Linked DNA regions of Homo sapiens: region 2 is linked to region 1. The links are contacts of gene promoters, found by promoter capture Hi-C in human tissues and cell types (Jung and others, 2019). All regions are on one chromosome and are shown on one strand. The core of a region is centred on a gene start or on the middle of the fragment in contact, and the rest is flanking DNA. Distances in the headings are between cores, read along the strand shown. Region 1 holds the start of SF1 (splicing factor 1). Region 2 holds the start of CDC42EP2 (CDC42 effector protein 2).

What was found. The method cuts DNA at HindIII sites, captures the fragments that hold promoters and counts their contacts. A contact is called where the count stands out against the background at its distance.
Region 2: the fragment with the promoter of CDC42EP2 here is called in contact with the fragment with the promoter of SF1 in region 1 in 1 of the 25 tissues and cell types used here (lymphoblastoid cells).

The regions. Positions count from the first base shown.
Region 1 is chr11:64,776,857-64,784,262 of GRCh38, reverse strand. SF1 (splicing factor 1) reads left to right here and starts at 5,721. Exons shown (of 13, transcript NM_004630.4): 1 at 5,721-5,901. The coding sequence starts at 5,871. RefSeq lists enhancers at 5,257-5,366, 5,343-5,944 and silencers at 5,607-6,006, 6,267-6,576. The HindIII fragment of the contact is 16,194 bases long and covers 1-7,186 here.
Region 2 is chr11:65,311,496-65,318,901 of GRCh38, reverse strand. CDC42EP2 (CDC42 effector protein 2) reads right to left here and starts at 4,036. Exons shown (of 2, transcript NM_006779.4): 1 at 3,948-4,036. LOC105369344 (a long non-coding RNA gene) reads left to right here and starts at 4,213. Exons shown (of 3, transcript XR_007062727.1): 1 at 4,213-5,131. RefSeq lists silencers at 3,079-3,238, 3,409-3,538, 3,999-4,378. The HindIII fragment of the contact is 18,736 bases long and covers 1-7,406 here.

The sequences.
Region 1 (7,406 bases), core at 4,472-6,971:
GTGTTGCGATTACAGGTGTGAAATACTGTGCCCAGCCTTTTTTTGTTTTTTGAGATGGGTTCTCATTCTGTCACCCAGGCTGGAGTGCAGTGGTGTCACCTCCACTCACTGCCACCCCTGCCTCTGGGGCTCAAGCCATCCTCCCACCTCAGTCCTCATGAGTAGCTGAGACTACAGGCTCACACTACCATACCCAACTAATTTTTTATTTTTTGTAGAGACAGAGGTCTACCCATGTTGCCCAGGCTGGTCTTGAATTCCTGGCCTTGAGTGATCCCACTTCAGCCTTCTGAGTAGTTGGGATTATAGATGTGAGCCACCTCAATGTATTTTTTATTTTTTATTTTTTGAGACGGAGTCTCGCTCTGTTGCCCAGGCTGGAGTACAGTGGCGTGATCTCAGCTCACTGCAAGCTCTGCCTCCCGGGTTCACGCCATTCTCCTGCCTCAGCCTCCTGAGTAGCTGGGACTACAGGCACCTGCCACCACACTCAGCTATTTTTTTTTTTGTATTTTTAGTAGAGATGGGGTTTCACCGTGTTAGCCAGGATGGTCTCAATCTCCTGACCTCATGATCTGCCTGCCTCGGCCTCCCAAAGTGCTGGGATTACAGGTGTGAGCCACCGCACCCAGCCTTTTTTTTTTTTTTTTTTTTTTTTTTTTGAGACAGGGTCTCCCTCTGTCACTCAGGCTTCAGTGCAGTGGTGTGATCACAGCTTATTGCAGCCTCAAACTCTTTGGGGTCAAACAATCCTCCTGCCTCAGCCTCCCAAGTAGCTGGAACTACAGGCACACATCACGCTCAGCTGATTATTATTATTTTTGTTTCTGTAGAGACATTCTCCCTATGTTGCCCAGGCTGGTTTCGAACTCCTGGCCTCAAGCAATCCTCCTGCCTTGCCTTCCCAAAGTGCTGAGATTACAAGTGTGAGCCACTGCACCCAGCCCTTGGTGCATTTCTCAATGCCTATAGTTATATAATGTTGCAAAAATGGAATCATGTAATACATTTGTTAAGCGTATGAAGCATTTTTTTTTTAACTTTGGATTTTTAGGCTGGGTTTGGTGGCTCACGCCTGTAATCCCAGCACTTTGGGAGGCTGAGGCGGGCGAATCACTTGAGATCAGGAGTTTGAGACCAGCCTGGCCAACATGGTGAAACCCCGTCTCTACTAAAAATACAAAAATTAGCCAAGCATGGTGGCGCATGCCTGTAATCCGAGCTACTCTGGAGGCTGAGTCACGAGAATCGCTTGAACCCAGGAGGAGGAGGTTGCAGTGAGCCAAGATCATGCCACTGCACTCTGGTCTGGGTGACAGAGCAAGACTCCATCTCATAAGAAAAAAAAAAAAAAAAGTTGGATGTTTAAGATGTGTTGGGCAACTTCCAGCCGCCCATTTCACTCTGCAATAGAGCATGTGCTGTGTATCCTTCTGTAGCCTTTGTTATGCTCAGATAATCATATGCAAACATGCACACATCTGTATGGGGTTTGTGTTACAAAAACAAAGCCATGTCATATGTATTTCTTTGTTAACACAGAACAGTAGTTACTTTAGGTTGGTTGGTATGAATTAACAGCTTTTCAAAGCTGCCTAATATTCTAGGTTATGGGTTTTCCAATTCAGTCGTTCATATATTGATGGAAATTCACTCTGTTTGCCCATTTTTACCACTACAAACAATGCTGCAGTAAATGCAGAAGACTTTGAAAACATTATATAATCACATGGCTTGTTTGGGGGCAGATTCCCAGGAGTGGGATATTGGATCGAAAGGGTTTATGTTTTCTTTCTTTTGAGACAGAGTCTCACTCTGTCGCCCAATCACAGCTCACTTCTGCCTTTACCTCCTGGGCTCAAGGGATCCTCCCACCTCAGCTTCACAAGTAGCTGTGAGTACAGGTGCATATTTTTTTATTTTTTGAAAGGGGGAACAATTTTAATAGACAACAGAATGCTTTCTAAAAGATTAACGATAGTAGGTGTTAGCACATTTATGTTCTGCTATTTTCATTTATTTTGAGATTCCTCATTATCACCTTAATTTGTATTTCCCTTATAGGCAGTGTCTAAATACTGGTAAATAAATTAGCTAGTCTCAGTCGCACAAACTCAGCACAGTCTAAGGTGGTACTGCTATAACAGAATCCCTGAGACTGGGTAATTTATTTATTTGAGACAGGGTCTTGCTCTGTTGCTCAGGCTGGATTGCAGTGGCGTGATCATAGCTCATTGCAGCCTTGATCTCCTGGGCTCAAGTAATCCTCCTGCTTCAGCCTCTTGTGTAGCTGGGACTATAGACATGGACCACCATGACCAGCATTTTTTTTTTATTTTTTATTTTTTTAGTAGATGTTGCCCAGGCTGGTCACAAACTTCTGAGCTCAAGAGATCCTCCCACCTCAGACTCTCAAAGTGCTGGGATTACAGGCATTAGCCACCACACCCAGTCTGGGTAATTTATAAAGAATAGAGATTTCTGGCTGGGCACGGTGGCTCACGCCTATAATCCCAGCAGTTTGGGAGGCCAAGGTGGGTGGATCACCTGAGGTAAGGAGTTCGAGACCAGCCTGGCCAACATGGTGAAACCCTGTCTCTATTAAAAATACAAAAAATTAGCCAGGCATAGTGGCGGCACCTGTAATCCCAACTACTTGGGAGGCTGAGGCAGGAGATTCATGTTGGCCAGGCTGGTCTCGAACTCCTGACCTCAGGTGATCCACCCACCTCGGCCTCCCAAAGTGTTGGAGCCACCGCGCCTGGATGGAGATTAAGTTTCTAACACATGAGCTTTGGGGGACACATTCAAACCTGTCCACCTAAAGTAATCAAAAGGGTCAGAATCTAATTTCAATAGTTTATTCAAGCACAAAACATGAGGGTGGACTACCTGGAAACACCGACTCCAAATGAATGGAGTCAGTGTTTCGAAGTAGAGAAGTTAAGGTTTCATTTACACACACAAAGGCAGAGGAGTTTTAGGATTACATTCTTCATATATGGTCAGTGCGTACTTACAGTAATTTGGTTATAGGCCGAGTGCAGTGGTCCACTCCTGTAATCCCAGCACTTTGGGAGGCCGAGGCGGGCAGATCACCTGAGGTCAGGAGTTCAAGACCAGCCTGGCCAACATGGTGAAATTCCATCTTTACAAAAATGTAACAATTAGCTGGGCATGATGGCAGGTGGCTGTAATCCCGGCTACTCAGGAGGCTGAGGTGGGAGAATCGCTTGAATCTGGGAGGCAGAGGGTGCAGTGAGCCGAGATTGTGCCATTGCACTCCAGCCTGGGCGACAGAGCCAGACTCTGTCTCAAATTGAAATAATAATAATAAATAATTTGGTTGTAAGCAGTGTTTCTTTTTGGGAGGCATACATTTAACATTTTTTACAGAGGGTGTAATAGTCATGGGTTTGCTGTCATCTGGTCTAAGTAAAGCAGGACAACAAAAGGGAAGTTATCTATAAGAAGGGTCATTAAGAAGGCAGCAGGTTTTTGTCCCATGTTTAATTCTCTCCAATAATTGTACAGAACAAGAAAAACAAGCAGGTCTAATTTATTATCTCAGAAAAAATTATAACCATACATGGCTGAGATCACAGTCACCTCTCTCTCCAGGTTTCAAGTGTTGTGGGGGTTCCAACATCTTTTCTATTTATTTTAAAAAACCACAGCAGAGGGGTTGTGCACCCTTTCATATTTCTTGGCTATTTGGATTTGTTCTTCTGAGACATGTCCATTCCTATTTTTTGCTCATTTTCTATTGTTTTTGCCTTTTTTCTAATTAGTTTTTAAGATGTATTTGTATATTACAGGTATTGGCTCTTTATCATGTATGGCAAATATTTTTTCCTCATCTATCATTGTCTCTTGACTTTTATCAGTGTTAATTTTCGGGGTAATCAAGTATATCTTTTTACAGTTTGAGGTTCCTGTCTTTGCAGTCTCTCAACCCCTAGAATACCCTTATAGTCTCCTAAATTATATTCTAAATGTTTTGTTGTTTAAATTTAAGATTCTACGCCATTTATCAACGAAATCATCTTTTCCTGATTGAAATAAAATACTACATTTGTGGTATTTCCGGATTCTGTTGCACTAATGTGTCTTTCCTACCAACAATATCATATTGTTTTATTATTGTGGTTTTTTGTTTTTGAGACGGAGTCTCATGCTGTTGCCCAGGCTGGAGTACAGTGGTGCGATCTCAGCTCACTACACCTCCGCCTCCTGGGTTCAAGCAATTCTCCTGCCTCAGCCTCCTGAGAAGCTGGGATTATAGGCGTCTGCCACCACGCTCGGCTAATTTTTGTACTTTTAGTAGAGACGGGGGTTTCACCGTGTTGGTCAGGTTGGTCTCGAACTCCTGACCTCAGGTGATCCCCCCGCCTTGGCCTCCCAGTGCCTTGGCACTGGCCTATTGTGTTTTATATACTATGTTTGTCATCTGGAAAGGCAAGCTCCTGCTCCGTCTTGTAAAGTTTTCCCAGTACTGTAGTAGTTATTTTTATTTTTATTTTTGACAGTCTCGCTCTGTCACCCAGGCTGAAGTGCAGTGGCCCCATCTCGGCTCACTGCAACCTCCGCCTCCCGGGTTCAAGCGATTCTCTTGCCTCATCCTCCTGGGAAGCTGGGATTGCAGGAGTGCACCACTACACCCAACTAATTTTTGTATTTTTCGTAGAGACGGGGTTTCGCCATGTTGGTCAGGCTGGTCTCGACCTTCTGACCTTGTGATTCGCCCGCCTCGGCCTGTCAAAGTGCTGGGATTACAGGCGTGAGCCACCGCGCCCGGCCGTAGTTATTGTTTTATACGATTTTAAGATCATTTAATTAAATCCTCTGAACTCCGTGGAGATTCCAATAGAAGTGTGTATTTGTAATTTTTGAACTGACAACCTTCTGTTACCTTTCATCTAATATGTTGTTGCATCAGTTCAAATACTGTTTTAAATCCTTCGATAAGTCGTCTCTATTCGTAGCTTTTTGGGTCACTTTTTTTTTTTTTTTTTTTTTCCAAAAAAACAGGAAGTCTTTTTACCTGCAGCGTCAACTGAGCCGGTTTTCCGGCGCGCGCCAGCCCCTCCCCTGCTCCCGCCCCAAGGTTCTGCGTTACCATGGGAACAAAGGTTGACGTCACTTAGGGCTTCCTTGCTGGACCCAAGGGTCGATGGTGAAGGGAGACGGGTGGAGAGGCGGTTTTGCTCCATCTACGCATGCGCACTTCCTGCTCCAGGACTCCCCCGCCGTAAATCTCGTTCCGGCTGGGCCTTTTCCGCCGCGACTCTCGCTTAATCCCGGAGAAACTGCCCCCTGGGGGAGGGGAGTAGAAAAAGGCTGGAACCAGCGACAGCCAATCCCGCGACACTACAACGCAGGCGAGATTGATTGAGTCCACCACCGCAGCCAATGAGAGAGCTCGCCGTCGCTCCGTCATAGAGTTCGCCCCACCCCATCCCCTCCTTTCTGGACTCGGAGCTCAGTTCACGCAGTAACAAATGAAGTGCGCGCTGCGACACCTCCCAGCCCACCGAACTCCGCCGCCATTTCCTCGCTTGGCCTAACGGTTCGGCCAATCCCAGCGCGCATCAAGAAGGACTGAGGCTCCGCCAATCGGAGGCCGCCGATTTCGACCCTTCGCCTCGGCCCGGCCCAATCCAGGCCCCGGCCCCGCCGCCCCCGGCCCGCCCCCGCGGTGCCCTCTCTCCTCCCTCTTTGTGCGTCTCGCGCCGCCGCCGCCCGCCGCGTGAGAGGACGGGCTCCGCGCGCTCCGGCAGCGCATTCGGGTCCCCTCCCCCCGGGAGGCTTGCGAAGGAGAAGCCGCCGCAGAGGAAAAGCAGGTGCCGGTGCCTGTCCCCGGGGGCGCCATGGCGACCGGAGCGAACGCCACGCCGTTGGGTAAGCTGGGCCCCCCCGGGCTGCCCCCGCTCCCCGGGCCCAAAGGAGGCTTCGAGCCGGGCCCTCCGCCTGCACCCGGGCCTGGGGCGGGGCTGCTGGCTCCCGGGCCGCCGCCGCCCCCGCCCGTGGGCTCGATGGGGGCCCTGACCGCGGCCTTCCCCTTCGCGGCGCTGCCTCCGCCGCCTCCGCCGCCGCCCCCTCCGCCTCCCCAGCAGCCGCCGCCGCCTCCACCGCCACCGTCCCCCGGCGCCTCGTACCCGCCGCCGCAGCCGCCCCCTCCGCCGCCGCTCTACCAGCGCGTGTCGCCGCCGCAGCCGCCGCCACCCCAGCCGCCGCGTAAGGACCAGCAGCCGGGCCCGGCCGGCGGCGGAGGAGGTGAGTCGGGCCGAGAGAGCGCGAGAGGCGTCGCGCGGACGGGCCCGGCCGCCTGAGGGGCGCGCGGCGGCGGCGACGGCGGCTGCACGCGGCAGGGGCGCGCGTGCGCGCACGGGGAGGCCCGGGCGGAGGCGCCCCTGGGCGCGCGCGGCCTGGTTCTAGGGCCTCGAGTGCGCACGCGCGCTGTGGGGGGAGGGCTGGGCGGGCGGGAGGCGCTCTGTGCGCAGACGCAGTGAGGTGGCCGGGCTGTGCGGCGCAACTGTATAGACTGGGGGCCCACTATTGCTGTCCAGTCCGCTGGTGTCGGGAACAGGGGTGGCGGGTGTTCAGCGCTGGACGGGGTGCTAGCTGTGAATGCCAGCAGGGCGTGAAAGCCTCACCTGATGACGTGCAGCGACTCCCTTCTGGTCTTGAGGAACCAGAATGGGAACCGTACCAAGGATAGCTCCTCTGCTTCTACAGCAAGGCAGGGTTTTCATCCGGGAGAGGTTGGCATGCTTCAGATGATGGTTGGGTCTGATCTTTCTTGGTCTCTTTTGGGGAGAGAATTTTAGTTTGTTTTTTTTTTTAAATCTGTTCAGTATGTTTAGATCTCAGTCTGATCGGCTGCCCTGTCGCTTTGTTTTAAAAAGCTTTTCCCTCTGATCCTGTACCCCTTGGGAAATAGAAGGACTCTTTTGTGGCAAATGTAGGGAGTTTCTGCCTATGTACGGGGAAAGGAGAACTTGGCTGCTATTGTATAGGTTGTTGAATTTTTGATAGATCCTTTTAAGAGTTCAGACCCTCAGTGTCCAACTGGCCAGGAAAACTGAATGCTGATCTTGGCTAAACTTATGAAGACAAAGGTGATCTTGTTGAAGAATTGGGCTTTTCCCACTTGGTAGGGTGTAACTAGGTTTAGTTGTGGTCCGGCCTCTCGTACAAAAGTGACTGGTGAGGGGAGTGGAGGTGGGTGGAGCCCCCAGTCCCATCAGGACTGCTTTACAAATCTATGATTCTTCAGTGTATTTTTGTCTCCCCTGGGGATTTCAGAGCACTCATGGTTGATGTAGTATCTATCTAACACTCTCTGCAGCCATATGCATTAAGATTACCACGTTTATATATCTGACAGTTTTTCTAGACAAAAG
Region 2 (7,406 bases), core at 2,787-5,286, 540 kb before region 1:
AAAAAAAAAAAAAAAAAAAAAAAAAAAAAAAAAGTCAGGTGCAGTGGCTCACTTCTGTAATCCCAGCACTTTGGGAGGCCGAGGTGGGCGGATCACCTGAGATCAGGAGTTCGAGACCAGCCTGGCCAACATGTGGAGACCCCATCTCTACTAAATATACAAAAATTAGCCAGGTGTTAGGCCGGGCGCGGTGGTTCACGCCTGTAATCCCAGCACTTTAGGAGGCCGAGGCGGGCGGATCATGAGGTCAGGAGATCGAGACCATCCTGGCTAACACGGTGAAACCCCGTCTCTACTAAAAATACAAAAAATTAGCCGGGCATGGTGGCTGGCGCCTGTAGTCCCAGCTACTCGGAAGGCTGAGGCAGGAGAATGGCGTGAACCCGGGAGGCAGAGCTTGCAGTGAGCTGAGATCGCACCACTGCACTCCAGCCTGGGGGACAGAGAGTGTCTCCATCTCAAAAAAAAAAAAAAAAAAAATTTGCCAGGTGTGGTGGCGCAGGTCTGTAATACCAGCTACTCGGGAGGCTGAGGCAGAAGAATTACTTAAACCCGGGAGGCAGAGGCTGCAGTGGGCCTAGATCGCGCCACTGCACTCCAGCCTGGGCAACAGAGAGAGTCTCCGTCTCAAAAAAAAAATTTGCCAGGTGTGGTGGCACAAGTCTGTAATACCAACTACTCAGGAGGCTGAGGCAGAAGAATTGCTTGAACCCAGGAGGCAGAGGTTGCAGTGGGCCTAGATCGTGCCACTGCACTCCAGCCTGGGTGACAGAGTGAGACTCCGCCTCAAAAAAAATAAAAAAAATTAAAAAAAAAATTTAAAACACAGAGAAAAATCTAGAAGGCCAGCCCTAGGTTGTCATATGGGCTACCTTGACTAGGGTACACAGCAGGGATGGGGGGTGGGGTCACTGATATGGGAGGAAAGGAGTCATCAATAAAAATAACCTATAATATTTTGGTCCCATGACTATGACATGATAAATGTGTGTAATATATATAAATATGAAAAGATGGAACAGTGGTTTTCTCAAAGTGGTAGAATTTCAGGTTGATGTTTCCTTTCTTGTTCAGACCTCTATGAATTCAAATTCTTACTAATAAGCAATGTATTATTTATATGCACATATTTATGTAGTCAGAAAAAAATTAAGCTATTTTTAATGTGTAAAAATAAATAGCTATGAAGGGGTGTCATACTGATTTAACAGAAAAAAGAAATGAAGCAAGCACTCCCTCTGCTTGAGGGTGGGGGACGCACATGGGACCTGATTGGTCCAGTACACATGAGCCCAGATGTAGACTCAGCATAAAAGGCAAAGAGAGAAACTTGTCCAAGGTCACCCAGTGAGTAAGGGCAGCATGGGAATTCAAGCCAGATGAGCCCACCCTCCTGTACCACTCCCTCCCCAGGCCCAGCCAGGGGCTCACCAAAGGTGGCTCTTGCCAGTTCTTTGCCTCAGTTTTCATTCTGGGCAGGGTGAGGGTGGGGGTGAGGGGGTTGGGAGGCGGGAGCAGGAAGGAGGAAGGAGGATGCAGGAGAAGCAGAGTCCAACTGCCCCCCTCCCCCCACCAGCTGAGGCCCTTGCTCAGGAAACCCCACCCCAGGACCGGACACCCGGGTCAGTCGTACTGAGCCACAGAGGCCGGACATCTTACCCCTCCCAGAGCACCTGGAGCTTAACAGGAAACAAAGGAATGACTCTCCCGTGGCGGAAATCCAGCTCAGCTTGCAAGGAGCTGGGGGAAGGGTGGGGACGCATGGGCACCCTGAGGTCTTGGAATCCCGTCACGCATTCATCCTGTGTCAACCATGCCAGGCCTGGGGGCCATGCTGACAAACATGCAATTTGTCGCTCGTCAGGAGAGAAGTCCTGGGGGGGGCTTGTCTTCCTTTTCACTCATGGAGCGTGGGGCTGACTGGTGGGATGTACCCAGAGCCTGGGCCAGGTCCTCCCCGCACCCCCAACCCCATCACACGGCAGCGCCAAGACAGCCTGAGTGTTTCCACAACAAATTGGGCGTCCCTGACAGCTGTCTCACTCACAGCCAGATGTACACACCCAATTCCAGATGTGGGGAGAATCGAGGGTGAGGCCAGCATCAGCGGCCCAGGGGAGAGCTGGGAATTACAACCCTCACGCCCCAGGAATTTAGATTTGGCAACTGCAAGACCCTAGGATCCAGCTTGCCACGCACAGTTTCTCATCTTAAAGCTCCCAGTCACGGCATGGTGGGGTCATTACGGCCCTTTACAGAAGTCGAAGCTGAACCTCAGAGATGTTAAGTAACATTGGCGACGTCATCCAGTTAGGAAGTGGAAGAGTGGGTACCCAGCCTGGTCCACGTGGTTCCCATGCAGTGGGCCACGCCTACTTCCATAATATGTTTGGGGAGCGGGAGAGAAAGGGGCTCACAGCTAGGCTGGGAACAGTGGGTCCCCAGATCTCCTCCATCTACATCCTGACCTTTGGCTGCCCCCGTCTGCCCAACTTTCATGTGTCCAGAGATATGAGAATGAGGTCTCCATCAGGACAGGGCTGTGGGGAGCTGGGAGGGGAGCTCCCTGCAGCAGTCGGGGAGCAGATAGGAGCATCCTAGCTCTCTGTGATTGCCCTGGACAGGAGCCCTGGACCTCCCAATGAGAAAATGACTTCCGGCAGGCAGGGATCCTCCTATCATGAAGAATATTAGGCCACCTCACACCCCCTCTTCTCCTAAATCAGGAGACTGTCCTTAAATCCAGCTCCACCTGGGACTTCCTCAGTAACCTTCAGCAAGACGCCTCTCCTCTCTGGGTCTCACCTTTCCCATCTATAAAATGGGCTGACAACGAAGCCACCACTAAAGGGCCACTGGAGATCCCACTGCAATATTGCAGGTGAGAGCGCCAATGTACAATAGCGGGGTTCAGCGGGTCACTGTAGGTTTTATCATTCATTCAGCAAATATCTACAAGGCCTTCCTTCCTCAAGCACTTCGATTCTCCGGGGCCAGTGCTTTGAACAATAGCAAAAACGAAGGGCTCCTGACCCCAGGCGTCCACCTCCTCCCGCCCTCCTAGACCTCGAGGATGCAGAGACCCTCTAGCGGCCGCTGGGTCTCCCGGGGTCCCGGTGCCTCCGGAGAGGTGCCCGGCTCCGCGGCCGCCAGGTGGCGCGCGTGCTCCCTTGATCGCCTCGTGTCCCGGAGGACTCCGAGAGCGCACCGGGGTCTCCAGCGCCCCTCCCCCGGGCTCCAGGCAGGCGGTCCCCAAGGAGCTGCGCGTTCAAGTACCAGATGGGGATTACCTGCGAGATCTTTTTGCTTCGGGGTTTCTGGTCCCACAATCGGGGAAAAAGGGGGCGATTGGGGACCCTGCCCTAGTCTCCAAGCTCTGGGAGGAGCCTCCCCCCTGTGCTTTCCGGCCTGGGCGATGTCCTAGTGTCCGCTCGGCACAGGGCCAGAGCTCGGGCGTGCGGGCCCCCGCCCCTCCCACGGGTCCGGCTCCTTAGCTCCGGCTCGGGTTCCTGCGCCGACCCCTCCCCACTCCTACCCGGGCGGAGCCCAGCCCAGCCCGGATCCGTTTCAGGACATTCGCGGCCGCAGCTAAAGATAGGAGAACAACTCACTATCGGCTAAAAATACGGCCCCCAGCCCCGGTGGGGATGCTGGGCGGCGGGGCACCCCTGGGTCTCGGGAGGGGGGCGGGGGCCCGGACACAAAATGGAGGGCAGAACGGGGAATTCGGGGTCGGGATGCGTTGCGCCCCCACGGACCGTGGCGGGCACGGGCGAGGCTGCGGGAACCCAGATGCGGGTGGGAAGCCCCATGGAGCCCTAGGAGCCCTCGAAAGGAACTGAGTGAGGTGAGAGGCAGAGCCAGGGCGCGAGCTGGGGCGGGGCGCCACAGAGATGGGCCTCTCGGGGGACCCCCGCGAAGCTGCGAAAATCCCAGCCCGAACTCACCGTGAGGCGCGCAGACGGCAGACCGGCGGACAGCAAGGTCTCAGGAGCTGGACAGCGCGGCGGCCGGACCCGACCGGCGGTGAACTTACAGAGTGCACCGCGGACCCCGCAGCCCCGCCCCGGCCCGCGGAGCCAATGCCGGGGCCGCGCCAGCCAAGCCCCTCCCCATCCCCGCCCAGGCCCCGCCCCACTCCGGGCACCGCCCGGGGCTCCCGGCGTGGGAGGTGCCGCTCCCGGGTCCAGCGGTCGCGCGCGCCCTGGAGTCCTGTCCTGGTTCTGGCGGCTGAGGGCCGGGTGGCGCAGGCGGCCTCCGGCTGTGCCCATGGGAACTAAAACCTTCGGTTCTAGAAGAGCCGGGGGAGAGGCTCCGGGAAGACCGAATTCTTCAGAAATCGCAGAGAGACCTTGGACCGGATCCTTCCCTGCAGGGCTGCGTCGGGGAAGCGCCGGCACAAGTATATTCAGCGACTTCCTTGGAAGCGCCTACGTTAGAATACTACAAACTTACAAGCTAGTTGATCAGTTTACCTCCCACTAGAAAAGACAGTATGGGAAGGCAGAGGCCGCGTGGCCTGGACCCCCGTCTTTGCTGTCAGGCTTCCAGAGTGAAGGTGGGGCTCATATTCAGACTAGTTCCTGGTCCATTCATTCTTTCAGTCAGTCAGTCAGTCATTCCTACAGGGCCAGAAACTTTTTTTTTTTTTGAGACAGAGTTTCGCTCTTGTTGCCCAGACTGCTCACCGCAACCTCCGTCTCCTGGGTTCAAGAGATTCTCCTGCCTCAGCCTCCCGAGTAGCTGGGATTACAGGCATGTGCCAGCACACCTGGCTAATTTTTGTATTCTTAGTAGAGACGGAGTTTCTCCATGTTGGCCAGGCTGGTCTCGAATTCCCGACCTCAAGTGATCTGCCCGCCTCGGCCTCCCGAAGTGCTGCAATTACAGGCGTGAGCCACCGCGCCCGGCCCAGAAACATGTTTTGAAGGGCAGGCACCGCACAGGGTGCTGGAGACAGACTGAAGGAAACTGCACCTCTCAGTGACTCAAGAGAGATTTGTTGAGTATCTACCAAGTGCCTAGCGCTGTTCTTGTCCCTGGGGATTCAGCCTCTGGATTGGGACCTGCAGCCCAGAGAAGGGAAATGGGGGAAATCCAAGTTCCCAGGTACATCATGATACCCTTCCAGGTGGGTAAGTGCTAAGAAGAGTGGGGCAGAGGAAGTGGTGGGTAGTGACGGGGTGGACAGACCTCACTTTCTAGAGGATGACAGCTATGCCAGCTCAGTGTGACCAGGATGGTTGGCTTCAATGCTGTCAGTGTGGGAAGGGCTTTTAGGGAGGCAGAGCCGGGAAGACCTCAGTGGGGGAGGCAGGATGCTGGGGGTGGGGGAAGATGCCAGACAAGCTGGGAGGTCCGGATGGGAAGAAGGGGATCATGGTAGGTAAAATAACAGCCCCCCTAAATATGTTCACATCTAGCCAGGTGCTGTGGCTCATGCCTATAATCCCAGCACTTTGGGAGGCCAAGGTGGGAGGATTGCTTGGGTCCAGGAGTTTGACACTGACACCAGCCTGAGCAACATAGTGAGACCCTGTTTCTACAACAAATAAATTAGCCGGACATGGTGGCTCAAGCCTGTAGTCCCAGGTACTCTGGAGGCTTAGGTAGGAGAATTGCTTGAACCTGGGAGGTTAAGGCTGCAGTGAGCTGTGATCACGCCACTGCACTCCAGCCTGGGCAATAGAGCAAAAACCCATGTAAAAAAAAAAAAAGAAAAGAAAAAAAGCCCACATCCGAACCTGTGTAATCTATGAATATGTTTTGTTACATGAGAAATGGAAATGAAAATTGCCAATGAGGGCTGGGCGCCGTGGCTCATGCCTGTAATCCCAGCACTTTGGGAGGTCAAGGCAGGTGGATCACGAGGTCAGGAGATCGAGACCATCCTGGCTAATATGGTGAAATCCCGTCTCTACTAAAAATACAAAAAAAAAAAAAAATTAGCCGAGCATGGTGGCAGGCACCTGCAGTCCCAGCTACTCGGGCGCCTGTAGTCCCAGCTACTCAGGAGGCTGAGGCAGGAGAATGGCATGAACCTGGGAGGCGGAGCTTGTAGTGAGCCGAGATCGCACCACTGCACTCCAGCCTGGGCGACAGAGCGAGACTCCGTCTCAAAAAAAAAAAAAAGAAAAAAAAGAAAATTGCCAATGAAATTATGGTTGCAAATCAGCTGACTTTAAAATAGCTTATGCTGAAGTATCTGGGTGGGCCAGTGTAATAACAAGGGTTTTTAAAAGTAGAAGCAGGAGACAGAGAAAGAGATGTGATAGGCCGGGCGTGGTGGCTCACGACTCACGCCTGTAATCCCAGCACTTTGGGAGGCTGAGACGGGTGGATCACAAGGTCAGGAGTTCAAGACCATCCTGGCTAACACGGTGAAACCCCGTCTCTACTAAAAATACAAAAAATTAGCTGGGTGTGGTGACACGTGCCTGTAGTCCCAGCTACTTGGGGGGCTGAGGCAGGAAAATCGCTTGAACCTGGGAGACAGAGGTTGCAGTGAGTCGAGATTGTGCCATTGCACTCTAGCTGGAGTGACACAGCGAGACTCCGTCTCAAAAAAAAAAGAGAGAGATGTGATGACTGAAGGGCCAGAGAAATGATGTGTTGCTGCCTTTGAAGATGGAGGCAGAGGCCCCAAACCAAGGAACTGCTTCAGAAGCTGGAAAATACAAGGAAACAGGTTCTACCCTATCTACCCTAGAGGCTCCAGAAGGAACACAGCCCTGCCCTCACCTCCTCACCTTGATCTTAGCTCAGTGAGACTCACACATTGGCCTTTTTTTTTTTTTTTTTTTGAGATAGAGTCTTGCTCTATTGCCCAGGCTGGAGTGCAGTGGTGCAACCTCGGCTCACTGCAACCTCCATCTCCTAGGTTCAAGCGATTCTCCTGCCTCAGCCTCCCGAGTAGCTGGGGTTACAGACGCCCGCCACCATGCCTGGCTAATTTTTGTATTTTTAGTATAGATAGGGTTTCACCATGTTGGCCAGGCTGCTCTCAAACTCCTGACCTCAAGTGATCCACCCACCTTGGCCTCCCAAAGTGCTGGGATTATAGGCATGAGCCACCTCGCTCAGCCCCATGTTGACCTTCTAACCTATAGAACTGTAAGATCACGAATTTCTGTTGTTTTAAGCCACCTATTCCATGATAATTTGTTGTAGCAGTGATAGAAAACGAATCCAAGGAGGTTCAGGTTTTAATCTTGAGTGTGCCCTCAACTCTGCAGGGAGTATTGGTCAGGTGGATTCTGCCAGGAATGGCCTGGCAGCTTGGAGGAAAACAGGCCTGGACCATTGAGTAAGTGGCAATGATGGCCCTGGGCCAAGCTGTGGTAGGGGTGAGTAAAGGGTGTGCCTCTCCCCATTCTTGCCATGGGACTTTGCCAGGCCGCCCTGTG